7 separate regions of the Homo sapiens genome follow, and regions 1, 2, 3, 4, 5 and 7 are each linked to region 6. Evidence: promoter capture Hi-C in 16 types of primary human blood cells and fetal thymus (Javierre and others, 2016). All regions are on one chromosome and are shown on one strand. Each heading gives the region's core, a stretch centred on a gene start or on the middle of the fragment in contact. The rest is flanking DNA. Distances are from core to core; before and after follow the strand shown. Region 1 overlaps RNGTT (RNA guanylyltransferase and 5'-phosphatase). Region 2 overlaps RNGTT (RNA guanylyltransferase and 5'-phosphatase). Region 3 overlaps RNGTT (RNA guanylyltransferase and 5'-phosphatase). Region 4 overlaps RNGTT (RNA guanylyltransferase and 5'-phosphatase). Region 5 overlaps RNGTT (RNA guanylyltransferase and 5'-phosphatase). Region 6 holds the start of CGA (glycoprotein hormones, alpha polypeptide). Region 7 overlaps RNGTT (RNA guanylyltransferase and 5'-phosphatase).

What was found. The method cuts DNA at HindIII sites, captures the fragments that hold promoters and counts their contacts. A CHiCAGO score of 5 or more calls a contact.
Region 1: a contact is called between a fragment that was not itself captured here and the fragment with the promoter of CGA in region 6, in 4 of 17 cell types (naive B cells, total B cells, M0 macrophages and 1 more). The highest score is 7.6, in naive B cells.
Region 2: a contact is called between a fragment that was not itself captured here and the fragment with the promoter of CGA in region 6, in 2 of 17 cell types (total B cells and naive B cells). The highest score is 6.5, in total B cells.
Region 3: a fragment that was not itself captured here is called in contact with the fragment with the promoter of CGA in region 6 in 1 of 17 cell types (total B cells); the score reaches 5.5 in total B cells.
Region 4: a fragment that was not itself captured here is called in contact with the fragment with the promoter of CGA in region 6 in 1 of 17 cell types (M2 macrophages); the score reaches 5.1 in M2 macrophages.
Region 5: a contact is called between a fragment that was not itself captured here and the fragment with the promoter of CGA in region 6, in 1 of 17 cell types (total B cells). The highest score is 6.5, in total B cells.
Region 7: a fragment that was not itself captured here is called in contact with the fragment with the promoter of CGA in region 6 in 3 of 17 cell types (naive B cells, total B cells and total CD4 T cells); the score reaches 7.7 in naive B cells.

Annotation. Positions count from the first base shown.
Region 1 is chr6:88,855,525-88,858,511 of GRCh38, reverse strand. All of the region lies in intron 8 of RNGTT (RNA guanylyltransferase and 5'-phosphatase), which reads left to right. Among named protein-coding and RNA genes, the nearest start is that of RNGTT, 110 kb to the left of the region's middle. The HindIII fragment of the contact is 1,302 bases long and covers 665-1,966 here.
Region 2 is chr6:88,896,884-88,899,746 of GRCh38, reverse strand. The region is part of intron 6 of RNGTT (RNA guanylyltransferase and 5'-phosphatase); the gene reads left to right. Among named protein-coding and RNA genes, the nearest start is that of RNGTT, 65 kb to the left of the region's middle. The HindIII fragment of the contact is 3,959 bases long and covers 1-2,863 here.
Region 3 is chr6:88,797,314-88,800,493 of GRCh38, reverse strand. The region is part of intron 12 of RNGTT (RNA guanylyltransferase and 5'-phosphatase); the gene reads left to right. Among named protein-coding and RNA genes, the nearest start is that of RNGTT, 160 kb to the left of the region's middle. The HindIII fragment of the contact is 4,929 bases long and covers 1-3,180 here.
Region 4 is chr6:88,779,109-88,782,310 of GRCh38, reverse strand. All of the region lies in intron 12 of RNGTT (RNA guanylyltransferase and 5'-phosphatase), which reads left to right. Among named protein-coding and RNA genes, the nearest start is that of RNGTT, 180 kb to the left of the region's middle. The HindIII fragment of the contact is 2,566 bases long and covers 304-2,869 here.
Region 5 is chr6:88,919,783-88,922,763 of GRCh38, reverse strand. The region is part of intron 4 of RNGTT (RNA guanylyltransferase and 5'-phosphatase); the gene reads left to right. Among named protein-coding and RNA genes, the nearest start is that of RNGTT, 42 kb to the left of the region's middle. The HindIII fragment of the contact is 388 bases long and covers 1,292-1,679 here.
Region 6 is chr6:87,093,805-87,096,737 of GRCh38, reverse strand. CGA (glycoprotein hormones, alpha polypeptide) reads left to right here and starts at 1,632. Exons shown (of 4, transcript NM_000735.4): 1 at 1,632-1,725. The HindIII fragment of the contact is 11,698 bases long and covers 1-2,933 here.
Region 7 is chr6:88,874,286-88,877,264 of GRCh38, reverse strand. All of the region lies in intron 8 of RNGTT (RNA guanylyltransferase and 5'-phosphatase), which reads left to right. Among named protein-coding and RNA genes, the nearest start is that of RNGTT, 88 kb to the left of the region's middle. The HindIII fragment of the contact is 1,701 bases long and covers 495-2,195 here.

The DNA of each region.
Region 1 (2,987 bases), core at 66-2,565, 1.8 Mb before region 6:
ATCAGCTATGCATGAATTCCTCTGGAATGCCTTCCATGATCTCCAAACTCTGACAGGCTCTACCTTTGTAGGCTCCTGTAATAGCTTCTTCTTCACTGTTCTAATATGTATTATGGTTGGAATTATTTAATATCTTGTTTTCTTTTTAAGAGTGTAAATGATGTGAAGTTGAGAAGAGAGTCTGTGCCATTTGCTGTTATAACCCTAGCATCTAGTACTGCCTAGCATCTAGACTGGCTCCAGGTCGGCCCTTTAACTTATATTTTAAAAAATAATTGATTAAAAAATTTAAGAGAAAAGCCATAATAAGTTTGATAGGGGCTAGGAAAAATGGATAGAGATAGAGATGGTGGTGAAATAAATCAATGTAAATGATCAGCTTTTCTGTTTTTATTGCCCATCAAAATGCTCTAGTATGGAGGCTGTATGACAGAAGAAGAGGAATATCTGTTGTTTTGAAGCCACTGTGGTACAAAGAACAAGGGTTAGAATCCTGTCTTAATTCATTGCCACTTTGCAAAGGGAAAATGTTTCTCTGGGTCTGATTATAGACTACATTTCTGGCTTGGTGGCTTTTTTCCCCCTTGTAAAGCTTTAATTTTGCCCCCTGTGTCTAAAAGCAATTTGTGTTTATTTCTAAAAATTTTGAAAGTACAGAAAAGCTTAATGAGGAAAGCAAATATCATTGATAATTCTAATACATAGAGATGGGGCAGCTCTTACTATTTTGGTATAGGCTTTACTCTATATTTACGATATACATACAGTTTTGTCCTCCTCCTTTCCTCTGTAATTATTTAATGTATTCTGGTTTTAAACTTGCTTTTTTCCCACTAAATATATTGTAAATCTCTTTCCATATTAATGAATATTTTTATCATTGTTTAAAAAATGCTTGACTAGTATGCTTTTACATGAATATGCAATATTTATTTTACCTATTTGCTGAATGATGGACATTTGAGTTTTTATCCTTTCACTGTTATAAAATATTATGATGAACTTTGTTGTACATACAGCTTTGCTTAACAAATATTGAGTGCCTTCCTTTAGTGTGTATTCAGGTAGACTGTGCAAGATACTTAAGCTGTGAGAAGGAACAAAATAGATAGGATTTCTGCCTTCATAGAGTATAAGATAAATTCCTGAATTGATGATCAGAGTTGGGTCTAAATTGGTGATAACTTTAAATTACCAGGAGTTTAACGACCATTTTACTCTCAGACTACTGGGAGGAATGTGAATTAGGACTCTAAGGTGGTATTAGTTACCATTGTTTTCTGTCAGTTTTCCTTCTCTTTAATTATGTACTTCCTAATTTTATTAATGTATATTTGGTTGTTTTACTTAATTATATATCTCACATCTCAGCAACTGCTCTGAAAGATTATTTCCAGTTTTGGTAGAAAACCTGCATTTACAGTAAAGTAGTCTATACATCTGGCTTTTCTGTAATCCATATACCTTTGGTTTATATACTTTAGCATTTTCTATCTGGGAAACGTATACTGAATTAAATTTTGCCTTTTAATGGGAATGAATGAATATAATACAAATACCTATTGATAATTCTGAATATTAAATTTGCAGTTGAGATAATTTCCTAATTAATAAGAAATTATATTGCATCATAGTTATATACTAAGGCAGTATCTGACAGTTTGTGAGGTAGTTGCTTCTTTTTAAAGAATCTGGCTGCTTTCAGGGACTTTGGAGTGATGTGGAAATATTTCCACATTCCTTACATGAAATAGCTCCTTACTTTTTGTTAGTATCGCATAACAAAAGAACATATGATTTGGAATGACTGGAGTTCAAACTAAAAATCATAGCTCAGGAACTTGTGTTCCAAAGCCTGAAAATTTATGTGTGCAGAAGAATCCCTAAATACCAAGTGCTAAATAATTTCTCTGGTGTTTCTGCAGATGCAGAAGCTATCCTTTTGTAAATCCCGTCCTCTAAAGCTTTTTCTTCCTTAGTCTTTTAAATCTGTTTATACACATGTGTGCATAGAAAATATTTTCTTTTGATTGATACTCTACTTGATTTAAAAGAAAAGGTCTGATACTAAGATGTGTGTGTGTGTGTGTGTGTAAAATAAATACATCTTCACCCTGGGATAATACCTATTGTGTTTAAACATTAAATTTAAAATTCTCAACTTCTGGGCAGTCAGTGAAAGGGGAAATATAATTTCAGTTATCATTATTACATGATCATAAGAGTAAACCATTTCTTTTTTCTGAATTCTAACATTTATTAGCTTAAGTCAGCTTTTCTCAAATTGTAAGTATAGAATACCAATTCTGTCAAATTTTAACAGATATCAGGATTAAGTTTAGGAAACAATGGACTAAATAAGATGAACAGATTTATTTATATATTTTATCATAACTTTAAATATCCTAATATATATCTTGACGTTCTAAGAGAAAGATACAGTGGTTTCCTAACTTATTTGCCTTGAAATACCCTTTTGGTGAATATCAGCTTTGCAAAATGCCAGCCTAAGTCCTTAACAACATGATGGGTTGTGTGTCTTCCATGCCATTTTTGCAGATGATGTCATCATTGCTTTTTATTTGATCTTCCCTTTTGTTGATTTAAATTCCTTTTGAAACATAATCCAAGGCAAAGCTTACTTCTTCCAAGTAGCTTAGATTCTCTCTATCCACCAGGAATTGCTGCTTTTGAAAAGCATGTGCCAGAGGGTCTTGCGAACTAAGTATTCCTGTTGTCTGTGTGCCAGCTGGCCTGGCATTTGGTCTAGGAGTCTTTCAGATACACAGTCAGTCCAGACTGAGGCTGAATTTATTTTTCCTAGTGAAACCTGAGTCCCCACACTCCCCATCTACTAGGGCTGCAGCTATTATAGCAAGGGCCTGAGCTCTCCATCTGCTCCCCAGACACCTGCTGGAACTAATTATCATTATTATTAAAACTTTAAAAAAATTTTTTTCTATTATGTTGCCTTTTTTCCTTTCCTT
Region 2 (2,863 bases), core at 70-2,569, 1.8 Mb before region 6:
TAGAAAGGAAAAGCTGTAGAAGATGTCTAGCTCACCTCTCTGGCCTCCCTTCCTCCTGAGTTTTTGGCCCTTCAAGTCCTTATTGCCTTTCTAATTCTCTGAGGTCTTCAAATGAATTCTTTAACATTGTCCAGCTTTTTTTTTTGTGGCTACAAAGTTAGTCTAATTAGGCTGGGTGCAGTTGCTCACACCTGTAATCTCAGCACTTTGGGAGGCCGAGGCGGAAGGATTGCTTGAGCTCAGGAGTTTGAGACTAGCCTGGGCAACGTAGTGAGACCTCGTATCTACAAAAAATTAAAAAATTAGCCAGGTGTGGTGGTGTGCACTTGTAGTCTCAGCTACTTATGAGGCTGAGGTGGGGTGGATTGCTTGAGCCTGGGAGGTTGAGACTGCAGTCAGTGAGCTGTGATCATGTCACTGCATTCACCTGCACTTCAACCTAGGTGACAGAGTGATAGGCTGTCTCAAAAAAAAAAAGCCGAAACCTTCTTTCTCTCTTTTTGGAGAAAGCAATTAGTCTTGATTTCTGTTATGAGTTGGTGATTTTTGAGAATATTTGTGCTTATACCTCCAAAGGCCGAATTAGGAAAAAAAAAAAGTTCTAAAACCTTATGCCTTTTGGTAGTTTTTTCTTTTTTCAAACCATAATTAGTAAATCCTAAAATTATTAAATATTTTACTCATATAAGTAATATATTAAAGATGAAAGAACATTAATCTTTAGTTTATTAAAGAAAGTTTGAAAACGAAAGAAAACTTATAATCCTTCAACTTTCATACTACCATTGGTATTGTTGTCTTTTTAGAATAATTTTTCCCTATTTACTTATTTATTTAGCTTTAAAACATACACAGATGACTTAAAGATGAGTTTTTTTTTTTTTGTAAAATATAAATGCAAACATCTAGGAGTATATAGAGTTAAAAGGCAAAATATTTCTTCATTCCCAAGCCATTTGCTCTGTACTTTTTGGTTATTTCTTTGCATATGCACAGAAAACATAGTATAGAAGAATAACTTAGTGTAGAAGAATATATACTGGGGAGATACATATATATAATATATATATATACACACACACACACAGTATATATACTAAAAATTATATATTGTAAAAATTAAGTCCTATATAAAAGTAATACTAGATATACTAAGAAAGGAAAAATTAAAAATTTTTCTATTTGAGAAAGCAAATAGAACCTTTCTTTAGAAGACAAGAGAGGCTATCAATCCATAAAATAATAGCAGGCTATTAAGAAGAGGAACAAATTAGAGATCTTGGAAATGATAAGATTAAAAAACCACTTAGTATGTGGGATGAGTAGCAGAATGAAATTATCAAGCTAGAGGATCTAGCTATGAAATCCTTCCAGCATGCAGCATGAAAAGACAAAAGAAATGTAAAATATGAGAAATAGTTTAGAATTAACTTAAAGGGAGCAATTTAACAGTATGATTTCATGGAGAGGACAAAATTCAATAAGGACGGAAAGTATTTATCTGAGGATTATTTTCTGTGGTGCAGTAGGGCTGGGTCAGACTGGTAATTTTAAGAAGCTAATGGAAGGCGAGAAAGTGGAGACTGAGTTGTGTTAGGGGTTCCCTGTACCACCCTCACTTCTGGAGATTTATTAGAATAACTCAGGACTCAGCATATGGTTGTACTCATAACTCAGATTTATACAGCAACGTACTAAGGATATACAGCTCAATCATAAGAGACAAAGACAAGTAGAGTCTGGGGGGAGTTAATGTGTAGGCTTTCTTGTGCTCTCTTTTTCTCATGAGGGGTCATCCTGAGCTCACTCTTCCTGCAGCAATGTATTTGTGATGTTTCTGTCCATGGAAGCTCATTACACTCTCACTGCTCAAGATTTTTATTGATGGCCGGTCATGTAGGCACTCTGTGCTTAGCATGTAGCAAAATTCCAGGATTCCAGGAGGAAAAAAATTTATTCAGCATAAACTGTATTTTTGGGACAAGTAATCTAGGTTTGGTGAGCCATCCTTATCAGTTGACTGAGAACACTCCAAAAGTCAAGTTCTCAGGTGCCATTCAGGAGCCAACTTTGCAAGCACTAGTGTTAGGTTAACCCTTTTCTGCACACTACTATAAACTATTCATTCAAGTGGCTTGGTTATGATAAAAAAAGGAGCAGAAGGGTAATTGATGCAGACATAGTCAGAAAAGGCTTTTTAGTATGGGATAAATTCAAGCATATTTATTAGTGTGGATAAGGAGCTAGTGAAGTCAATGAAGTTGAAAGTAAAGATTTGGGGAATAATGATAGAGAAATCTCTGAGGAAGTGCAAGGGAATGGAGGTCAAATGCAGTTTTTGGAGTAATAGGTCTTCAGCAATAGGAGGGAAATATCTTTCTTAGTACTGGAGATGTAATTGAGATTGTGATTTTTTCCTCAGTAAGTTTCAGCTGCCTATGTATGAGAGTGGAAAAGACTAACGGTAGGTTGACTCAAGGCTGGAGAAATTCAGTTTGGGTGTGATGAAGAACAAGAGGGTAAGGGGCACTGAGGCTGTCAGAGGAAAAATAATTGAAGTAATCAGCCATAGGTTCTAGGCTGAATAGGAAGTAAGGTCAGGATGAGGGTGCTGTTAGAATATGTAAAGGAGAAATGAAGGGACTGTTAGTCTTGGTGAAATTGAAAAGTGAGCAGAGTGACAGTAAAAGAGTTTATAGTGACATGTTAGTTTTAGAATGCTGTCGGCACTCAATCAATGTGAGTTGTATTGAATCAAAAGGTAGAGTGGTTTGAAATGATTGTGGTAGTGCCATGGAGCAGGATGTTCCAGTTGGACAAAGATGAGGGTCATTGTAAATGAGATGACCTATTGTAAAGGTTG
Region 3 (3,180 bases), core at 6-2,505, 1.7 Mb before region 6:
GTTGAGAATTTATATATGGAGACATCAGACTGGGTGCCTGGGGTCAAAGAAAGGGAACTAATAATTTGAACACAGTGTATTAAATACTGTACAGGTTGAGTATCTCTAATTCAAAGACTGATATGCTATAAAATTTATAATGTTTTGAGCACCAGCATGATGCTCAAAGGAAATGCTCGTTGGAGCATTTTGGATTTTTGTATTAGGGATGCTCAACTGTTAAGTATATATAATGCAGATATTCCCCAATCTGAAAAAAATCAGAATCCAAACCACTTCTGGTCCTAAGCATTTCAGAGAAGGCATATTCAACCTATGCATGTAAAGCATTATATCTTTACGTGTGTAATAAATCTCTGCTAAAATGCAAATTTAGAGACAATGTGATATGTGATTGGCATCTGTCTGTCTTCTAGCCCCCCTTGCCAAACAAAGAACAGAAATATCTTCTGTGGTTAAGGGAGGAGGAGAGGGAGGAGGACATGGAGGAGCACTAGAGGTTAGGGACGGAAATGGAAGAAAATACTATTTTAGGAAAATTAAAGTTGAATCTTTTAGTTCTAATATATTCCAGTCTCCCTAGACTGAAAGAAGCAAAGTCTAAATATAACAATAAATTCAGAAAATTTCAGTGTGTGAAACTCATGGTTCAGATCTGTACATATATGGCATATGTAGGAAAAATGGCCTGACAAATAAGTGAGTCTCTTTCTTGGATGTCTAGTATAGGCAGTTGATTTGTCATTCCGTTCCCTTTCTAGTAACCATACTTTTTTTTTTTTTTTTTTTTTTTGAGATGGAGTTTTGCTCTTGTTGCCCAAGCTGAAGTGCAATGGCGCAATGTTGGCTCACTGCAACCTCTGCCTTCTGGGCTCAAGGGATTCTCCTGCCTCAGCCTCCTGAGTAGCTGGGATTGCAGGTGCGCACCACCATGCCCGGCTAATTTTTTGTATTTTTAGTAGAAACGGAGTTTCACCATGTTAGCCAGGCTGGTATTGAACTCCTGATCTCAGGTGATCCGCCTACCTTGGCCTCCCAAAGTGCTGGGATTACAGGTGTGAGCCACCGCGCCGGGCCGTAACCACACTTTTTATTACAATGACTTTGTAATTGATATCTGGTATTAAGTCAAGTCTCCCTGTTCGCCAGCATTACCTTAAATATTTGTTGACAATTGGTTTAACGTGAAAGTTTCAGAATCAATTTGTCATGCTACCCAGAAATTTTTGTTAGGAGTTTAATTGGAACATCTTTGAATTTAGATTAACGTGGAGAAAATTGATGTGTTTGCAATGTTAAATCACTTTCTCAATGAATGCTATGGCTTTTTTTTTTCAGGTCTTTTTCTGTTCTGTAACTGAGTTTAAGTTTTTTATTATTGTTATGGTAACTTCTAAATATTTGTCATTTTCTGCTTTTGTGGTAAATTGTGTCTTTTTTTATTGCTACTTCTAGTACACTGCCACATTATTGATTTATTTTATTGATTCAACAATCCTGTTGAATTCTGTTAGTTCTCATCATTGTCTAATTTTACACATTGACCAGGACCTCTAGTATTGAATTAAGTATTAGTTCTAGTTAGATAAGGGAGAAGACATTTATACCTTCTTCTCAACCTCAAAGGGAATGTAACTAAATTTTCTCCATTAAGTATGTTTGTGGTAGATTTCTGTTAGATATCCTTTATTGTGTTAAGAAATTTCTGATTCTGTTCTTCCAATAATTCTTTTTAAAATCATAAACAGGTTTTGGGCTTTAACACCTTTTAAAGCATTAATTTTAAGGCAGTAATGCCTCTTCGGTATCTACTAAGGTTATCATGTCATTTTCATTTTTACACCATTTATGTAGTAAATTACACTGATTTTTCTCATGTTGACCCATCCTTGCATTCCTGGGATAAATGCTACTTGATCATGATATATATAATTTTTTAAGCATACTTTTGGATCTAGGTATAATTGCTTCTTGAGGATTTCTGCCACCTTATTTCTTACAGTTCATTTTTCTCTCTTTTTTTTTTTTTGAGACAGGGTCTCACTTTGTTGCCCAGGCTGGTGTGCAGTGGCACAAACATGGCTTACTGCAGCCTCGACCTCCTGGGTTCAAGCAATCCTCGCACTTCAGGTCCCCAAGTAGCTGGGACTATAGGCGCGCACCACCACGCCTTGCTAATTTTTGTATTTTTCGTAGATACGGGGTTTTGCCTTGTTGCCGAGGCTGGTCTAAAGCTCCTGAGCTCAAGCAATCCGCCTGCCTCAGCCTCGCAAAGTGCTGGGATTACAGGTATGAGCCACTGTACCCGGCCAATTTTTCTCATTTTTTATATTCAGAATAATGAAGGTAATATTTTTTATTGTTGAAAAAATTATGTAAGTTGCACATAATCCATGGTAATGCCTATCCATGATTTAAAAAAACCAATTAAATGAGTGATTTGTGCTGAAAAATAGAACAGTCTCTTACCAAACAGTCTCTTACCTTTTTCTGCACTCTGAGTACTACTCCTAGGAGGCAATTATTTTCCTCTTTTTTTTTTTTTTTTTTTTGGCTTTTGCTTCTACAGTTCTACACAGTCTATGCTGTTCTTTTTTGGTTTTGTATTTTATACATAATCTGCTTACTTTGTACTGTGGAAGAATAGGATTGAGCCCTCTAATTCCACTAACCCCCTCCACACCCCTTTCTCCTTCTGTCATTCTATTGTAATTACATCACATATTTGGTCAAATTAATATTCAATTTTTATATTTTTATGGTGACATAAATATTGTTCCTATCTGGGTCAAATAGTATACAATTGTATTTTCTTTTTTTAGAAAAGTCTTGTCATCTAGCATTAGGAATATTTTTGGTTATTATAATTATTAATATTTCTTTCTTTAAACTCTCCAAAAGAACTGTTTACTTTTTATCAATGCAGTCAAATATATAAGGTCCATTTTTCATTTGAAGGCATTCTTTCTGAAGCCTTCCATTCTTTAGTCCTGCTGCATAGCCTTTTCTTCTTAGAGTTTCTTTTCACTATTTCATCCAGGAAATCCCTTTTACCTTTCTTCTCTGATAGATTTCCCTACTTTTTTGACTTTATCTTTTCTGCTTTTTTGATTTGAGTGATCTTGAAAACCTAATGCTGTACAAACTGGTCCTTATACTTATGGAGCTTTTGTTTCAGCT
Region 4 (3,202 bases), core at 337-2,836, 1.7 Mb before region 6:
TACTTGGGTTCAAATATCTTTTCTACCAATTTCTTTATGACTCTGTTTTGTGATCCATGAGAAAAGGGTACTATGTTAGATTGAACTACCTCATGGAGCTATTTTGAGAATAAAGTGATTTAAGAACACTCAAACCAGTAACTGGTGAAAAGTGAAAAACTCAGTCGATGTTAGCCCTTAGAAGTTATTGCTGCCTTAATTATTCTGTGTAAAGGGCATAGTAGGGGATAAAACTAGAGAGGATGAATAAGGCTAGGTAAGTGGGCACGGGGAGGTGGTCTTTGGTTGTTAGGTTGAGAAGCTTGTATTATTTTCAGTAAACCATCTAACCAGATGGATTCAGGATCAGTTGTATTTGATAGGGCCTGTTGATAATAGGGATAACAGTTAGGTTGATCACAATAGCCTGGGTGAAAAAGTAATAGAGATAATTGGTGGAATATGGAATTGGTAGAGATCGCATCAAAGATGATTCGAGAGTTTTGAACCTTTCTGGTTAGGAGCATTATGTTAATCAGAAATGGAAATCAGAATGGAGATGAACTAGTTTTTTGTTTAAGAATATAAATGATTCAGTTTTAGATTTAAAACTTTAGGCTGCCTTTAGGGTACTAATGAATAAGCCAGTGCCTGGCATACTTTTATTTGGGAGAAAGTTAGGACAAAAGATGAAGATTTGGGAGTAATTTTCATTGTAAGTGTATTTGGAGTCTTAGAGGAGTGGATGCTGTATAATGTGTAACAGTGAAAAGACAAATAATAGATTCTTGAAGAATGTGCGTTCATAATTGATTCCATTGTTTTACTGTCTCTAGTAGCATTACTGTCTAGGATTTCTAAAGTTTTCTTTAAAAATAAATGCTGTAATAAAACTAATATTATAGTAAGGACAGGGATCTTTCTTAGCTTCAGATGTGATCTTTGTGAAGAAGGCATTATGTCTCAGGTTTTACTGTAGAACCTGGTGATAACTACTCACATTTTACTAGTGGAAATAATAGAATAACATAAGCCTGCAAGGTGTTTTTAGATATCTCTGGTCTAGATATCCTGTTTTAGGCAAGCAAAATGCTATTATTGCATTTTTACAAATGAGATAGATAAAGCCCACTTTGAACTTGCTTAAAATAATTACGTTAGTAGAGGCAAAGAGGGACTAAATACGTTGCTCCTTTGCCGTTACTAATGCTAGCTTCATTTACATCAGGTTTTCTCAGCCTTGGCACCATTGACATTTTGGGCTAGAATTCTTTGTTGTGGGCAGCTGCCCTGTGCTTTGTAGGATGTTTAGTAGCATATCTAGCCTTTAACCACTAGATGGCAGTAGCACCCCCTCCCCACCTCTTGTTCAACCAAAAATGTCTCCACGCATTGCCAAATATCCCTTGGAGGCAAAATCTCCCCTAGTTGAGAACCAGTGCTTTACACCACAAATATATATCATGTATACCTCCAGTTAGCTTCCTGTCCACCTTAGTTTTACAGACTTCTCTTTGGCATATGGCCATCTTCTACCTCTAAGCCAGGTTCTGTTCTCATCTGGTCAACACTTTCTTAAGCATCTTATTTTGCTGCCTGACGTTTACATTTATTATGTTTTTGACTTTACAATGGCAATGGATATCTTGGGTTATATTGGTAATTACGTTTACACCTAACATATCCCCAGTTTTTTTTTGACAGCTCACCTCATACAATCAGATTTATTTCTATAAACTAAGTATTGTATTTATCAGTTAACTATAGCTCTGATAATTATTTTAACCTAGATACATGCTGGTAAATTGAATTATATTACTCTGACTATACACGAGAACATGTAGAATGGTGTTTTTATATCCTTGTTTATAGTTCAGCAAGATTCTGTATTTCAAGTTTGATAAATCATAAATATTTATTTCTAAAAGGCTTATTCAGTTTCTGTATTTGTAATATATTTGCTCTTATTATTTTGGGGATCATGAAAAAGGGATTATTTGGTAGTGATTTATATAATCTTTCATAAATATTGTTAGCTTATTTCATAATCTCAGATATTTCATTTTTAAATTAAGTGTACCTGAGACAGATATTTTTGTAGTAAGTTTTGAAATTCTGTATTTTTAATTATTTTATTAAAGTATTTGAGCATTTTACTAGGTGTTTTGTAGGCACAAAATTGATGTGATTTTTTCTGAAGTAGAATTACATTCTAATGGGTATTTCAATATATTTTACTCATAGAATCTGTGTCATTGTTGAATCTACATTCAATAACTGGGAGCTACAGTATTCTTAAAATACCATTTTCTAGATTAATTAATTAATTTATTTATTTGAGACAGAGTCTCACCCTATTGCCCAGGCTGGCGTGCAGTGGTGTGATCTTGACTCACTGCAACCTCTGCCTTTCAGGTTCAAGCAATTTTCCTGCCTTGGCCCCCCCAGGTGGCTGGGACTACAAACATGCACCACCATGCCTAGCTAATTTTTGCATTTTTAGTAGAGATGGTGTTTCATCATGTTGGCCAGGCTGGTCTTGAACTCCTGACCTCAGGTGATCTGCCCGCCTTGGCTTCTCAAAGTGCTGGGATTACAGACGTGAGCCACTGCACCTGGCCCCATTTTCTAAAATTTTATAATCATTAATTTTCATAAAGGTGCTTTGAAATTCCTAATAATATCAAGTCTAGTATTCCAAATTAATATGAATGATTTGATGTGCAATGAGATGAGGAGTTACTTAAGTTTCTGAATTATTGCTGTGTAAAAACAGAAGAGTTGATACATGTTGTTTTCTTATTAGACAAAATTGAGTCTTGATTTCCAGGCAAGAGAATGTGAATGATATTTAATATCTGTTATATAAATAAAATTACATATTAAAGCTTTTTAGAATTTATCATTAGGTACCTATTAGGAGATATTTTAAAACTATACCATCATTCAACTTTTCTAGATTTAATAACTTAGATTGATATTGGTTTCTAAGTGTTCTTGTAGTCACTTACTATAAACAAGTAGGAAACGGAACTAAAGGATGATTTGCCTGTAAGTATGAAATTTCCTTGGCAGAGGTTGCAAATGCGGTGGGATGTGCATAGTGTGTTTCAAGCTACACAAACTTACTCTTTTTCTTGGGCCTATTCTCTCTTGCTGACACTCCTTTCTCCCCTTACTTTTTTTGACCCTTTACTACTGTAATGAGCCACTGTTACTTAAA
Region 5 (2,981 bases), core at 236-2,735, 1.8 Mb before region 6:
AGGTCAGGAGATCAAGACCATCCTGACTAACATGGTGAAACCCTGTTTCTAATAAAAAAATACAAAAAATTAGCTGGGCGTGGTGGCGGACGCCTGTAGTCCCAGCTACTTGGGAGGCTGAGGCAGGAGAATAGCATGAACCCGGGAGGTGGAGCTTGCAGTGAGCCGAGATTGCGCCACTGCACTCCAGCCTGGGTGACAGAGCGAGACTCCATCTCAAAAAAAAAAATTTTTTTTTAAGGTAATTGAGGAAATCTAAAAACAAACTAGGTTCTAGATGACGTTAAGGAATTTATAACTCTTCTTTTGGTATAATTATTGCATGGTAATCATATGAAACCCAGAGTCCTTATTAGAGATGTGTATTGAAACATTTTTAGTGACATGACATGTCTGTGACTTGCTCTAAAATGTAGTTTAAGGTCATTAAAATGCTAATTACTCTGATTTGATCTTTATACATTGTAGACATGTATTGAAATATCACACTCTACCCCATAAATATGTATTTATATATTTATAATACAGTTATTATGTATAAATTAAAAATAATAGTAAGAGCTGGGCCCAGTGGCACATGCCTGTAGTCCCAGCTACTTGGGAGCTAAGGTGGAAAGACTGCTTGAGCCTGGGAGTTGAAGTCCAGCCTGGACAACATAGCCAGACCTGGTCTCTAAAAAATTATTTAATATAATAATAATAAAGGCAAAAAAAAAATTAATGTGGTTGTTCCTCAGACTCCTCAGGGGATTGGTTCTAGGATCCCCCTCAGATACCAAAATCCTCTGATGCTCAGTGCTCAAGTGCCTTGTATAAAATGGCATAGTATTTGCATATGACCTATGAACATCCTGCCGTTTTCTTTGAATCACCTCTAGGTATTACTTATAATACCTAATACAATGTAAGTTCTATGTGAACAGTTACTATATTGTATTTTTAAATTTGTATTATTTTTTACTGTATTTTTTATTGAGTTTTTTCCCAAATATTTTTAATACAGATATAGGAAGGCCAATTTACTCCAAAAATATTATTAAGGGTGGAGGATGAAAAAAAATCAGCAAAATGATAATTACCAAAGAGGGATGATGGATACATGAGGTTTCATTTTTCTATTCTCACTGCTTTGGGTATGTCTGCAAATTTCCATAATAAAAAAAAAATTTGAGAGTACTGCCCCAGAGAAGCTAACAGTATGGTAAAAATTGAAAACATCTGGTTCTAAGGGTTTCAGATAAGGGACTATGAAGCTGTAGTTACTGCTAAGGATTAGAAAAGGTTTCAAGCTTCTGTGTGTTTCAAGAACTTTATATTTCCATGAAGCCTACAGCATTAGCCCACAGCCTCACCAATTATCAACTGATAACTGAATCAGTTGTCAACTGTAATTGATAAATTAACAATTATATCAGCTAATTCAAAGATTACTTTTTTTTTTTTTAAAGACCAGGTCTCACTATGTCACCCAGGCTGGGATTTTTTTTTAAAACCAAGACAGCTTTGAAAAGAAACCTGAGTCTAACCTTTGCCACATCACAAATGTTTACTACTGGTCACAAATATTGATCAGCAAGAGTTTGTGCAAGGCTGATAAAAATTCCTTCTCTGAAACTAAAAATAAATGAAAGTACTATAAAAGCAGGACAGTATTTTCAGATCCTAAGACTACTTAAGCTTGATTCTTTAGTGCTTTTTATTTAGAAAGGTGTTATCAGCAATCAGTTCTGAGACTAGTTTCTGTTATTGTCTCTACAGTAATACTATAAGAAATAACTGGCAATACATCCTGTGCTCCAAAATTTGGCAGGCCCAAAGCAAATGTTTCCAATTCAATCCACATGAACAGAATCACTGCCGGGAATATAAAACAAAATATATATATATCACTAGGTTCTATAAATTTTATAACCTGTAAACACTCAAAACAATTAGAAGTTTTTCTTATCAGTTCTTCTAAGAATACAACTGCACAATTTATAACAAGGATGAATTTGTTTTCCTAAACCTGGAGTATGAATCTTTCTAAAATCATGACATCTAATGCCAGAGGTTAAAATTGCTTGACTGCCCTCCTTTGAATTCATTAAGCATATTTAATGTTTACCCCTATAATGGCTTCTCTCAAATGAGAAAACACTTCTGTGAGTTGTTTTTACTTATTCAGATAAAGGCCTCAGTATTACCTTAAGCTGTGTAGGTTCTAGTCATATACCTCAATATATGTGTATGTATGTGTGACTGTTATATATATTCATATAAATGTATGAATATATATACACACATCCTTAACATATTTCATGTATATCTCATAATATTGTTCTGTTAAATAATAGCTGCATACTGTACCATATAAATAACCTGCTTTTTTCAAAACAACAAATACAGTATAGTAACTGTTCACATAGCACTTACATTGCATTAGGTATTATAAGTAATACCTAGAGGTGATTCAAAGAAAACGGCAGGATGTTCATAGGTCATATGCAAATACTATGCCATTTTATACAAGGCACTTGAGCACTGAGCATCGGAGGATTTTGGTATCTGAGGGGGATCCCAGAACCAATCCCCTGAGGAGTCTGAGGAACAACTGCATTAATTTTTTTTGCCTTTATTGTATTATATTAAATAATTTTTTAGAGACCAGGTCTGGCTATGTTGTTCAGGCTGGACTTCAACTTCATCCCACAAATTGTAACAATTAAAATTGTCTCTAGACATTACAAAATGTCCCCTGGGGGGCAAAATCTTCCCCAGTTGAGAACTACTGAATCCTCGGTGCAGTGGCTCACGCCTGTAATCCCAACACTTTGGGAGGCCGAGGCGGGTGGATCACCTGAGGTCAGAGTTTGAGACCAGCCTGACCACCATGGTGAAACCCTGTCTCTACTAAAAATACAAAATTAGCCAGGCGTGGTGGCGCATGCCTGTAATCCCAGGTACTCAGGAGGCTGAGGTAGAGGTTGTAGTGAGCCGAG
Region 6 (2,933 bases), core at 383-2,882:
CCTAATATTCATAATTCTTATATAGAAATGTGAAATAAAAATAAAATCCACTATGAAATCATAAGCCAAACAAAAATAATTTAATAAGAGCATCCTAGAAACATTGTTTCTATGTAATCATTCAGATAAAAAAGAAATAAAAGGATGTAAAGAAGGCACAAATAAAAGAGAAAGAATAGAACAAAGAAGAGTGAAATGCCTAGATGGAAAGATTTTCAAAATAAGTCTGCTACATTGAAAATATACTGCCAGTTGGTTGATATTTAAATGTAGAAATTCTTGAATAATGGTGGCATCAATCATCACTAGGAAGGCCCGGCACGGTGGCTCATGCCTGTGATCCCAGCACTTTTGGAAGCCGAGGTGGGTGGATCACTTGAGGTCAGGGGTTAAACCAGCCTGGCCAACATGGTGAAACTCCTGTCTCTACCAAAAATACAAAAATTAGCCAGGCATTATGGCGCACACCTGTAGTCCCAGCTACTCGGAGGCTGAGGCAGGAGAAGTGCTTGAACCCGGGAGGTGTAGACTGCAGTGAGATTGTGCCACTGCACTCCAGCTTGGGAGACAGAGCGAGATTCCGTCTCCCCCACTCGTCCCCCAAAAAGGAGCATCACTAAGAAAAGGTGAATGGTTGGGATGCATACTGGAAGGAAACAACGGAAATCTGAAAAGGTGTAAGAACCTAAACAAATTTGTTTATCACAGAAAATAAATCACAAAACAACTTTGCGTTCTTTGGCAAGTTTCTTTATGTTAAACAAGAATTGCTTTTTGCATCACATAGATCTTCTAAACTCTTTGTTGAAGAGGTCCTTGGTAGTCTGTATCTAAGCCAGTTCCTTACGGAAGTGGCACTGAGCGGAGTAGATAAAGATAGGAACTTTTGAAGGGTCATAATCTCTGTGTGCAAAAAAGAAGCCACAGTAGTCTGAAGAGCTGTGCAGGTTTTAGGGTGACACTGGGTTGGGAACCTTGGAGCTAAGTGTCCCACACCTGGCAAGCCATGACATACATATTTTCTGTTCAGGCAGAAACTGAGCTTTACAAAAGTGAAATGAGAAAAAAAAAAAAACCAAAAACCAGGCACGTATATTGAGAACCATTCAGTCCTTCTTAGAATTGCCTCATACCTTTCTCATGCATCTTTATTAAATTCAGATGCAAATTAATTTTAGAAAAGTCTAAATAGGTGTGTGTTTTATTTTTCTGTTTCCTAATTAAATAGTGGTATAAGCCTGGAAATGCTCTATATCTATTTTCGGAAATCTATAGCTCTTGTTTAGGTAAATATCAGGTACTTAGCTAATTAAATGTCTCTTGTTTATAGGAAAGTGTCAGCTTTCAGGATGTTATGTGTATGGCTCAATAAAATTACGTACAAAGTGACAGCGTACTCTCTTTTCATGGGCTGACCTTGTCGTCACCATCACCTGAAAATGGCTCCAAACAAAAATGACCTAAGGGTTGAAACAAGATAAGATCAAATTGACGTCATGGTAAAAATTGACGTCATGGTAATTACACCAAGTACCCTTCAATCATTGGATGGAATTTCCTGTTGATCCCAGGGCTTAGATGCAGGTGGAAACACTCTGCTGGTATAAAAGCAGGTGAGGACTTCATTAACTGCAGTTACTGAGAACTCATAAGACGAAGCTAAAATCCCTCTTCGGATCCACAGTCAACCGCCCTGAACACATCCTGCAAAAAGCCCAGAGAAAGGTAATATGAATGAAATAATTTTGGGGGACTTTAATTGAGGAGTAAAATATTTGAGAATATGAGGAAGATTCCAAAGTCTCTGCATATACCTTAATAAGAACTGAGACAGGCTTTTACTCATTCTCTTTTCAGCACTTATGATTGAATTAGAAGGAAGTCTGTAAAATTTGGCTGTGATCATAGGGTAAGATGTTATCTAACAGAAGCCAGAAACCCAATGTCTCCTGCTGAGATGCTTGAGTGCCTGTCAGGATCTAAAAATTTTCCTCAAGAATTACTGTATGTCATTGGAAAGACGTTCTTTTGAGTGGCTTCCAGGAGCCAGACAGAGGGCAAGTAGACATTATGATATTGTTTTATTATCCATTTTTAAGTGATGTATAGCTATATCTTCAAGCTGGCCCATGATAAAGTGGTTCACTTGTTCAGCTGAATGACTATAGCTTCTGATTATCTTTTGAATAGATGTTCTCATGCAGACTTGAATAGTAGCATGGAATTTCTTGAATGTCGTTGTTTTCATTTTTCTTCTTTAATAAAATGCTACAAAAATCAAAGTTGGTAGTATTTCTCTAGCTATTATTCATGAATTTGCAATGATAAGTCACTTGCCCAAGTCTAATTGATTAGTTCCAATGAGTTTCTGGAAACTTTTTTGCAGCTAACCTTGGTTATCTTAGCATTAGCATTAATTGGTGGCTGATTGGGAAATAGACACTAGAAAATAAAAGACCTTTTTTGTCCCTCCTTATTAGCGTTGAAGAATAGGCTATGGGCACGTGTGAAGAACTATGGGCTGACACTATATGGGTCCCTTAGGAATGCAGAAGCTCCCTTTCATCTCTGTAGATATTTTGTTTCTTAAGCTCTTCAATCTTTTTCCCAGTCAAAAGTCAGATATTTTGCTTTAGAAAAGGAATCTTTTAAAGTTTCTGAAAATATCTTTTAAATAATTACTTGACTTAATACCAATTCAATTATTCATAATATTGGTCAACCAAATTGCATGTAATACATTGCTATATTCTTGAATTATTTAAAAAAGACAAGAGTGGTCATCATTTATAAAAGGTTCGTGGTTTTTCATGTTAATTTCAACTTTGGTTTTCTTAAGTTTATTATTTTTTTTGCAGTAAGAGTCATTGAAATTTTAAGTGAGTCATATTCCTTACCATTTCCTGCTGAAAAGGGTAGTGTGTGAGAAAAAT
Region 7 (2,979 bases), core at 96-2,595, 1.8 Mb before region 6:
ATTATACAGCACTCAATGCATATTAGTTATTGTTGTTATAACTGAAGACTGTTTTGAAAACCATTATTACATGAGAACCAACATTGATTTCCCAGAGTTCACTCAGAATTCTTTTAGGGTGTGGTATAGTTATTGCACAAGAAGAAAATTAAGCAAAGGCAAAACAATCTAACATTTTAAAACCAAATCTTTGAAATACCCATTGGTTAGTAGTCACATCTTTAGGATTTACTAAAGGATAAAAAGGTCCCTTAAATAGCAGTTTCTTTAATCAAATCCTAAGTATGAGAGTTACTACTAGTTAATAGAGATACTGTCTTTGAAATGGTATTTAAAAATAAAAACCAACCAAATTTATTACCTATTACCAAAATCTGCTAGAGAACTCTTAGAGCTGAGCAGATACAGATAAAACTTTGATTGCAAACATAGGTGCAACCCTAACTCAGAATTTTCAGTTGGCCAGGTTCTGGGGGCAGCAAACATGTGAAGCTTTGAAAGATTAAAACAAATGAATTTTTCGTTAATATTTTCAAACATTTTTTCCCCTATATAGAGCTGGGCTACTGGACCCAAACAAATGAGAAACAAGGAATACAGGATAAAGAGATTGAATTTGTCTCTTTGTTCATTCATGTAGTTAACAAATATTTATTGAACATTTACCATATGCCAGAGATTGTGCTAGCTATGATAGGCTTAGCAGGTAATTAGAACTAAACTATATGATGATGATGATGATTGTTTTTTGAGACAGGGTCTCACTGTTTTGCCTAGGCTGGAGTGGAGTGGCACACTCATGCCTCACTGCAGCCTCGACCTCCCACCTCAGCCTCCAGAGTAGCTGGGACTATAGGCGCGTGCCGCCACACCCAACTAATTTTTGTCTTTTTTTTGTTGTTGAGATAGGGTTTCCCCGTGTTGTCCAGGCTGGTCTCAAACTCCTGGGCTAAAGTGATCTGCCTGCCTTGGCCTCCCAAAGTGTTGGGATTACAGGCCTGAGCCACAATACTCAGGCATGATTATTTTTGTATGCTGCTTTTTATCTTAACATGAGTATATTTCATTGTTATAACATGTATTTTTAAAATGACTTAATTGCTGCCAAGAAAAAATAGTTCACCCTCGATTATAGGGGCATTTAGACTCCAGTTTTTTTGTTGCTATAAATAACTGTACTGATCTTCTTATACCCATCTTTGCATAAATTTTGACAAAAATAGTATTACTTAGATATAGTATGGAAACCTTTGAAGTCCTTGATATACCTTGCTAGAGGTTGTAGTGATACACTCCGAACAGCAGTGCTTGAGTGTACATCCTTGGCAATTTGGGGTAGTTTCACTTAATATAAGTAATGTAGCCAAGTTGACAATTGGAAAATGAATTTTTTTCTTAAAAGATTTTATTGATGTAAAAATTAAAGGAAAATGAATTTTAAAATTGCTTTGATTAGCAGTTTTTTTTGAATACTAGTGTGGTTGCACAAGTTCATTCTGTATTTTGGCTATAGCAACAGTTATAACAAGTAATACTTGTTGAACACTTAATGTGTATTAGGCATTGTTCTGAGTACTTTACATAGAACATTTATCTCATTTAATACTCACAACGCTGTAAGATAGCATTGTGAATAAGTAGCTTTTTCAAGGTCACAGACACAGTTATTGTAAGTAGCAGGACTGAGATTTGAATGCAAGTGATCTGGCCCCAGAGCCCAGAATCCTTTTTGCCAGGTCATGTCCTCATTATTTTTTCAATATTTTGATAGTTATTTTTACTGTTTTATGCTAATAGATGAATTTTTCTGTCTTAAAATATATTTTTTCTGATAATGTCTTCTGTCTTCCTCATAAAACATTAAAAAGAAATTAAAAAGTTCTCCCTGTGAGAACTTTTATCCCACCCCTTGGGATAATCAATATTAAGAGTTGGATGTTTGGTTTCTCGAGACATTATACCTTCATCTTCTTACCTGCTGTTTTCTTTCCTTACTTTCTGATCCTCCATATAATGGGATATGATATAGGCTGTTCTCTTATAAATAAATAATAGAAAAACTCTATTATTTTTTTTTCAAATTGCTTTGTGATGGTAATTCAAATTGCATTGCTCCTTTCACTTAATGGGATAATAAATATATTTGCAGACAATATTTACTGCTTTAATAGATAACTGTTAAGCTACTGTAAGCTTTAGAAGGTCTCAAAGACAATACAAGACACTAGAGGAAAGTAAAAGTACAATTCCTACTCTCAGCAGGAAAATGAAGTACAATTTAAGATGTAGTAAGAGATATAACAAAACTATGTATAGTACCAGACAACTAAGTAAGAGATACTAAAGAGCTAATAAAGAGCATTACTTGATACTGTATATGAAATATGACTGCTTGTTTTGATTTTAAGAGTGTGATATTGGGTGTTCATAGATGGATTTTTAAATTTTATATAGGAAATAAGTAAGATATATTTAGTATTGAATATTGATATTTAGTATTGAGTAGTGCTGCTGACCAGATGGAAGAACATTTGCTTTGACCCATCTCAGCAGTAGAGCTTATCTGTTAGATGAGGTGTTAACTGGATTTTCATATTTTTTTTTTTTACGATTCTGTGATACTTTCTTAACTCATTATTTGCTCACATACTCTTATTCATTATGTGTGATTATGGAAGTGGCAAATGCTGGCTTGGATAAAAAAGGGGAAAAAACTTTATCCTCTTTGTGAATCTGTGAAAAATTGTTTGAAATAATTATAGTTGATTTTTCTAGAATGCATGCTTTATACAAAAGAAAACTGAAAGTAATCAGCGAGTCAGGGACAAATGTAAAATAAAACTTTTGGGAAAATTCTTTTGATCTTTTCTTTTCATGAAGATGGATTACTTTATAAAAATTAAAATGTTGTTTACATGCCTCTGTGATAGGTAGTGCTGCCCAGAATACGTTAAGTGGCTTTTAAATTTTATTCCATAT